2 separate regions of the Homo sapiens genome follow, and region 2 is linked to region 1. The links are contacts of gene promoters, found by promoter capture Hi-C in human tissues and cell types (Jung and others, 2019). All regions are on one chromosome and are shown on one strand. Each heading gives the region's core, a stretch centred on a gene start or on the middle of the fragment in contact. The rest is flanking DNA. Distances are from core to core; before and after follow the strand shown.

Evidence for each region. Contacts are between HindIII fragments. The study calls those that stand out against the background at their distance.
Region 2: a fragment that was not itself captured here is called in contact with the fragment with the promoter of DCTN3 in region 1 in 1 of the 25 tissues and cell types used here (lymphoblastoid cells).

The regions. Positions count from the first base shown.
Region 1 is chr9:34,618,636-34,622,482 of GRCh38, reverse strand. It overlaps DCTN3 (dynactin subunit 3), which reads left to right and starts at 1,988. Exons shown (of 7, transcript NM_007234.5): 1 at 1,988-2,114; 2 at 3,723-3,807. The coding sequence starts at 2,019. ARID3C (AT-rich interaction domain 3C) reads left to right here. Exons shown (of 8, transcript NM_001017363.4): 6 at 1-136; 7 at 374-463; 8 at 925-1,434. The coding sequence ends at 1,025. The HindIII fragment of the contact is 3,867 bases long and covers 1,919-3,847 here.
Region 2 is chr9:34,347,487-34,351,333 of GRCh38, reverse strand. No RefSeq gene overlaps it. Among named protein-coding and RNA genes, the nearest start is that of NUDT2, 20 kb to the right of the region's middle. The HindIII fragment of the contact is 9,311 bases long and covers 1-3,847 here.

The DNA of each region.
Region 1 (3,847 bases), core at 739-3,238:
GCACTGGGACCTACACGGGAGAAATTGGCACCAGAGGAGCCCCCAGAGAAGAGAGCTGTGCTGATGGGGCCTATGGACCCACCTCGACCTTGCATGCCCCCCAGTTTCCTGCCCCGTGGCAAGGTTCCCCTGAGGGGTGAGGAGGGGCTTGTTGTGAGGGGGCTTCGGGACTGTACACTGAGGGAGGATTGACCCATCACCTGATAGGTGTTAGAGACGGGGCAGACAGATTCCTCTGTAGACAACTGTGTGAGTATAGGTGTGGGGCTGAAGTGGAATGGGGGCTGTCTACGGGGATGGAGGGGGGAAATTCTATTAATAAGTCAGAAGTCTGATTCTCCAAAATGTGATTCCTCTGCCCCCTCCTGGACAGAAGAGCGGCTGGATGGGCCTCTTAATCTGGCAGGCAGTGGCATCAGCAGTATCAACATGGCCCTAGAGATCAACGGGGTGGTCTACACTGGTATGGGTACTGCAGGCTGTCTACACTGGCATGGGGTCAGGGGTATTTAGGCTGGCATGGGGATTTTAGACTTCCTCTACTAGCATGAAGTTCAGGGATATCTAAACTTGCATGAGTAACATGGAGTTCAGGGGATTGCTAGACTGGCATGGGTTAAAGGGGGTGTCTACATGGCATGGGATCCAAGGCATGACCTCTCTGGCATGAGTACCAGGGGATGTCTGCCTTGTCTTGGGCCTATGTATCAGCATAAATATTCCTTGTTTACCTGTTTGAGGTATCTACATTAGCAATGGAGTCTCTTACTGACCCAAGGAGCTTGTCCTCATTGGTTTGTGGCAGGGGTACGTGTGTAGTGTTCTAGCAACCAGAACACTTACTTTTGTTCCCCTCTTCTGTTTCCATACCCTACCCCCTCCTGCTTGTTTTTGCCCTCTACCATCTCCTCACCCCTTTGCCAGGTGTCCTCTTTGCCCGCCGCCAGCCTGTGCCAGCTTCCCAGGGTCCAACCAACCCTGCACCCCCACCCTCCACAGGGCCCCCTTCCAGCATCTTGCCCTGAGAGGTCCTACTTGAAACTAAGAGTCCCAGCCCCATTGCTGAGGGGGGAGGAGACCCCCTGCTTTGATTCTTTCTGGCTGCCCACTCTGGGACCCAGCCCTGGGAGGGGACGACACCTCCCATGCCATGTGGACTTAAAACCAAAGTTTCTTTTGATGTTACACCTACCTCATTGTAAAGGGAGGGCACCTCCTCCCTGGCCAATTCCAGCAGCACCTACCAAAGGGTTCTTCCTCCAGTAACCCCATCATCTCCTCATGTGTTCCCTCTGTCAATGTCATCTCTAGGACCCTACCCTTTTGAGTCAGCCCTGCTTCTCTTCAGGAGCCAAGTGAAAGGTTGGGTTGGGGTACTGTGAAAGAGACATCCCTCAGGTCACATCTAGACAATAAAGCTGCGGTCCCTCCCTCTCTGATGCCTCCTTTCTTGTTTGGGTATGGGAGGTGGGGAGGAATGATGTGGAACATAGGCTGCCTTGGGCCAGGGGCTTTCAGAGGTTAAGGCAGAATAGCAAAGTTTCGTGAGAATAGAAGAGCTCCGTCTCTTGAATCAGACAGCCTGAGTTCAAGTCCTGTTTCTGTCCCTATAGTGCTGGGTGGCCTTGGGCAAGTTACTTAATCAACTGAACCTTAGAAGACTCCAAAAGTTTATGGTAACTCACGGAGCCTCCTAATGATGTATCTATGGGAATGGACCTATCCTGGAACACGTGCAAACTCAGGGAATGGCGTGGGGAAAGCTCTTTGGTACCCGAAAAGCAAAGGTTATCTTGACAACCAGGCACTGGAAGCCAGGGGAGGGATGGGACAGAGCCGTTGCCAAGGTAATCAGCTTTTGACAGCTCCGAGGAGTAACTTCCGGCACTGAAGGGCTGAATCATGGCGTCACTTCCTGCATAAAGGGCCGCTCGTGCACTCGGATTGGCTAGCCTTCTTATTTGGACTGACGTCCCGCCCTCTGGCTGTTTCCTGGCCGAGGTGGGTCGGTAGTAGCGATGGCGGGTCTGACTGACTTGCAGCGGCTACAGGCCCGAGTGGAAGAGCTGGAGCGCTGGGTGTACGGGCCGGGCGGGGCGCGCGGCTCACGGAAGGTGAGTAGTCTGGTCCGGTAGTCCCTTTCTGGAGCAGAGCAAGAGCGGTCCACTGTCCTGGCCCTCGGGATGCAACCGCTCCAGTCCTGTTCTCCGCAGCCCGGCCTTTGAAATAACAAAGGTCCGGGACCTCCCAGAGCTGATTGGACCATCGGGGTCCACTGTCATAGGGGGCTCTGCGGGTGGTTAAGCCAGCCTGAGAGTGGGCTCCGTACCTACTGTAGCTGAGACTCCGCCCTTGCCCTCGCGAGCTATAGTTGGGGAGACCTGACACGAGAAGCTGACTAATGAGAGTTTCAATAAGAGCTGAAGTCCACGATAGGAAGGCCCGTCATAGAGCCCTGCATAATTAATTGCTAAATGAATTGTGCAGGAAGAGGTCCATGGGACCCCTGGGGAGGCAGAGCAGAGGTGGATAAGGAAAACGCCAAAGGGTGAGAAGTGAGGTCTGAAAGGACCAGGATTAGGAAGGGAAGAGACTGGGTACTGGGTATTCAGATGTGGACTAGCACTGCTTTATACCAGTGACAGAATTTTGACAACTACGAAGCTCAGGTGCCCTCTCCTCCCCTTTCTACTATGGGAAGATCTTTTATTGAAGAACTTCTGATGGCGTGTCAGGCATGTCCTGGAGCTAAGTGCGTCCAAGGTAATGATGTCTGTTTGTACACTAAATGAGGAATTAGTTGTCACTAGCAGACTGTGCTCCCATTTCAGAACTAACTTCTCAAACATTCTCTTCCTTTGGGATCTATGACGCTGACCCTCCTGGTTTTCCTTCTACCTCTTACGGCTGCTTCTCAGTGTTATTTGCCTCCCCCCTGGCATTCCTCATCCTCTACCCTAAAAACTGGGTGAGTGCAGTCACTTCCTTAGTCTCCTCCTCTATTTGACCCTTTAATATTGGGATTCTTTACATTCTACCCCTAAACTTTAGGTAGGCTCACTCGCTTCCATGGTGTCAATTACTATTTACATGTCAATATGTCTCAAATGTATATCTCTGGTCCAGATTTCTGTTCTGAGAACCAGACTTTTATGTCTAGTTGTCTACTGGACTTTTCCACTTGGATATCCAATAGTCATTTCAAACTCAATCTGTATGCCCTTAACTGTACTCTTTCTCTCCCCTAACCTGATTCTCTTCTGTATTCCCTAATTCAGTGATTGCACCATCATTGGGATCCCAGTTGTTTGGACTCTTCCATCTCCCACACCAAATTTGATGTGGAGGGGATAGGGCTAGAGGTAGGCCAGCCAATCTAGAGGTCATGAAGGCTTGAATGAGGATGCTTGTGTTTCTCATGCCCAAACCCAGGACTTAGGAACCAGAAAATATATTGTGTATACTCTATATTCCATAGACTCTAAAATAGTTCGTTATCTTCCCCATCAGACTTGAAACTCCCCAAGGAGTACATGATTCTCTCTCTCCACTTTAAGGATTCCTGGAAGGTGGGGCTGCATCTCCTTTAATATTAGAGAAGGGAGGCCAACCTAGATTACTGGGATTCAGGTTTGAGAGTCTGGGAGAATGAGGGTTCTTTAACTTTTCCAAGCCTTGAGCCAGGTAGTATATCTTGGAATTAACCACCACTTCCCTTACAGGTGGCTGACGGCCTGGTCAAGGTGCAGGTGGCTTTGGGGAACATTTCCAGCAAGAGGGAGAGGGTGAAGATTCTCTACAAAAAGAGTAAGTGCTTCCATGATGTGCCTGCCTGCCCGACATCCCA
Region 2 (3,847 bases), core at 954-3,453, 270 kb after region 1:
TCATATATACAGAAAAATTAAAAGTCTAAAATAATGAGCACCCATATATCACCATCTTGAGTCAACAGTTGTTAAAGTTTTGCTATATTTGCCTTATTTATGTATGTGTGAATTTTTTTTCTGAACCACTTTTTTTTTTTTTTAAGGTAGGGTCTCGCTCCCAGGGTAGAGTTCAGTGGCATAGTCATGGCTTACTGCAATCTCAACCTCAAGCAATCCTCCCACCTCAGCTTTCTGAGAAGCTGGGACTGCAGGCATGTGCCACTATGCCTGCCTAATTTTTTTTTTAACTTTTTTTTTTTTTTTTTTTTTGGAGAGACAGGGTCTCACTATGTTGCTCAGGCTGGTCTAAAGCTCCCGGGCTCAAGTGATCCTCCTACCTCAGCCTCCTCAAGTGGGGGATTACAGGCATGAGACACCTGGCCTGAACCATTTCAAAGTTGCATTACTTACTGACATTGTGACACTACATCCTAAATTCTTCAGCATGCATTTCCTAAGGCCATTTTCCTACACAACTGTTTTTCATATCTAAGAAAATTAATAATTCCCTAATATGATCTAATATCCAGTCCATATTAAAATGACCCCAATTCTCATACCTAACTTTTAAACAGAGTTGCACAATTGTTCTTCACATTGTAATTCTCTGACTCCTGCCAGAGAAGCTAGACCATTGGAAAAGACATTCAACTGACTACAGAAAGATAAGTGCCCATATGTCCTTGGGAATAAACACTATGCATGATCTTGGGTAGGAGTGATGGAAGAAATGTAAAGGAGATAGTTTGGAAGAGAGAGTTTATGCTATTCTCACCTTCCAACAGGTGTACTTATAGCTCCACTAGAAGTGGCGATTAGGTCAAGAAGGAAGCACAACATTATTCTCTTCCTTTACCGAACCAATTTCAGACAGCCATGTTGGCTTCAGCCCTTTGGCCTGGCATTTGTCCTGGGAGTCGTCATCGTCACCCTCAACATCCACTCAAGAAAGCAAAACTCATCGGTGTAGTGTGGGAAATGAAAGAAAGAAAAAGAGAAAGAAAGCCAAAGTGCTGCAAAGAGCAACATGGCTGACTGCTCCATCCCCTATCCTGTCCCAGCTGGCCACCACACTGCGTCAGACCCCTGATTCCACTGGTGGCCAGATAGCCCCGCATATGGCATTTTGCTTTTGTTCTTATTTATTTATTTTTTTGAAATGGAGTCTAGCTCTGTTGCCCAGGCTGGAGTGCAATGACATGATCTTGGCTCACTGCAACCTTCACCTCCTGGGTACAAGCAATTCTCTGCCTCAGCCTCCCAAATAGCTAGGACTACAGGCATGTGCCACCATGCTCAGCTAATTTTTGTATTTTTAGTAGAGAGAGGGTTTCACCATTTTGGCCAGGCTGGTCTTGAACTCCTGACCTCGTGATCCACCTGCCTTGGCCTCCCAAAGTGCTGGGATTATAGGCATGAGCCACCGCGCCTGGCCTAAATTTAAATTTTAATAGGTACAAAGGTTCTATGTAAGGACCATCCTATTTTTTTTTATGGCTGCATAATATTTCATATCATGCATGTGTCAAAGTTTATTAATCCCTGGTAATGGGTATTCAGGTATTTTAAATTATATACTAGTCTAAGCAATACTTACTGAATAACTTTACACTTAGCACTTTGAACTTCAAATTAGAAAACTAGAGTGTCTTAGAAAAACAGAATAATCAAACAGAGGAAGCGTCTTTCGGAGCTTTGATCTTTACACAGTAATCTGAGGAGTCAAAATTCAAACCCAATCCTACAGGTTGTCAGATCTGGAAGAAACCATTGAGATCATCTTGTCCAACTCCCTTGTTGTAATGAGGAAAATAATGTCCAGAGAGGTTCAGAGCTTGCCCAAGATCACGTATCCAGGTAGTGACAAAGCCAGAGATAAACACCAGACCATCACTCCACATGGCTTCTCTCAGCCCTGTGCCTTTTGCCTCAGCATGTGTGTCTGAGAATGATGATCTTTGAGAGTGTCTGAGACACAGTGCACATGAGATAGGCAGGGAGGAAAAGGCCTAGGGTTGGAGGGCCAACGACACTGGTAATTCTTTTTTTTGTTTTTTGTTGTTGTTGTTGTTGTTGTTGTTGTTTTTTGAGGCAAAGTCTCGCTCTGTTGCCCAGGCTGGAGTGTAGTGGCACAATCTCGGCTCACTGCAACCTCCATCTCCTGGGTTCAAGCGATTCTCCTGCCTTAGCTGCCTGAGTAGCTGGGATTAGAGGTGCCCACCACCACTCCCAGCTAATATTTTGTATTTTTTAGTAGAGACGGGGTTTCACCATGTTGGCCAGGCTGGTCTCGAACTCCCGACCTCTGGTGATCCACCCAACTCGGTCTCCCAAAGTGCTGGGATTACAGGCGTAAGCCACTGTGCCCAGCCAACACTGGTCATCTTGAGAGGGTGGGTGGGAGGGGACCCCTGAGCTAAAGGAGCAATGGTCATACTGGATACAGATTTTTTTTTTTTTAATGAAGCAACTTCCTAAGGTGCCAGATGAGTTTTGAGAGAGAGGAAGTAGCCATTAGGGAAACGGAAACCAGAAATTTCTGAGTAGCCTGGGAAAGCTATTTGAAGGAGGCAGGACTTTAGGAGCCACAAAAGTGATGACATAAATGTTTAAACAAAGGTATCTCAAGCCAGAGGCTTCTCCTCTCCAAACTGTGGTTCTGCCTAGGCTCCTTCCCTAAGTCACCCTCTATGGAGAACTTGGGAAGAACTGGTCATTTTTCTTCTTCTTCCTTTTTTTTAAACATTAATTGGTTGGGCACGGTGGCTCACGCCTATAATCCCAGCATTTTGGGAGGCCGAGGCGGGCAGATCACATCACGAGGTCAGGTGATCGAGGCCATCCTGGTTAACATGGTGAAACCCTGTCTCTACTAAAAATACAAAAAAAAATTAGCTGGGTGTGGTGGTGTGTACCTGTAGACCCAGCTACTCAGGAGGCTGAGGCAGAAGAATCACTTGAACCCGGGAGGCAGAGGCTGCAGTGAGTTGAGGTTGCGCCACTCCGCTCCAGCCTAGGTGACAGAGCAAGACTCCGTCTCAAAAAAAAAAAAAAAATTAATTAATTTTGAGATAAGGGTCTCACTCTAGCACCCAGGCTGGAGTGCAGTGGCACAATCTTGGTTCACTGCAGCCTCACCCTCCTGGGCTTAAGCAATTCTCCCCTCCTCAGTCTCCTGAGTAGCTGGGTCTACAGGTACACACCACCATGCCTGGCTAATTTTTTGTTGTTGTTGTTAGAGATGGAGTCTCACTACATTGCCCAGGCTGGTCTCTAACTCCTGGGCTCAAGTGATCCTCCTGCCTCTGCCTCCCAAAGTGCTGGGATTACAGGTGTGAGCCAATGCCACATGCCCAACCTTGGTCATCTTTCTTCTGATCCCTGTAAAAAGAAGCAACAGGCTACACTCTGGAGCCAACCCCATGATGGAGCAAGATGCTCTTCTAGCTCCCCATTCCCTAAGCTTATTCCCCAGGGAAACTCCTGTGGAGTGTAAAGACGACCACATCAGCAATCTCTTTGCTTGCCCTGCTCACTTAATCCACTGAAACTCTACATAAAGAACCTGGGCCATGGGAGGCGGAGCTTGCAGTGAGCTGAGATTGCACTACTGCACTCCAGCCTGGGGAACAGAGAGAGACTCTGTCCTCCCACCAAAAAAAAGAACCTGGGCCAGCACTTTGGGAGGCCAAGACGGGCGGGTCACCTGAGGTCAGGGGTTCAAAACCAGCCTGGCCAACATGGTGAAACCCCGCCTCTACTAAAAAATACACAAATTAGCTGGGCACGGTGGTGAGTGCCTGTA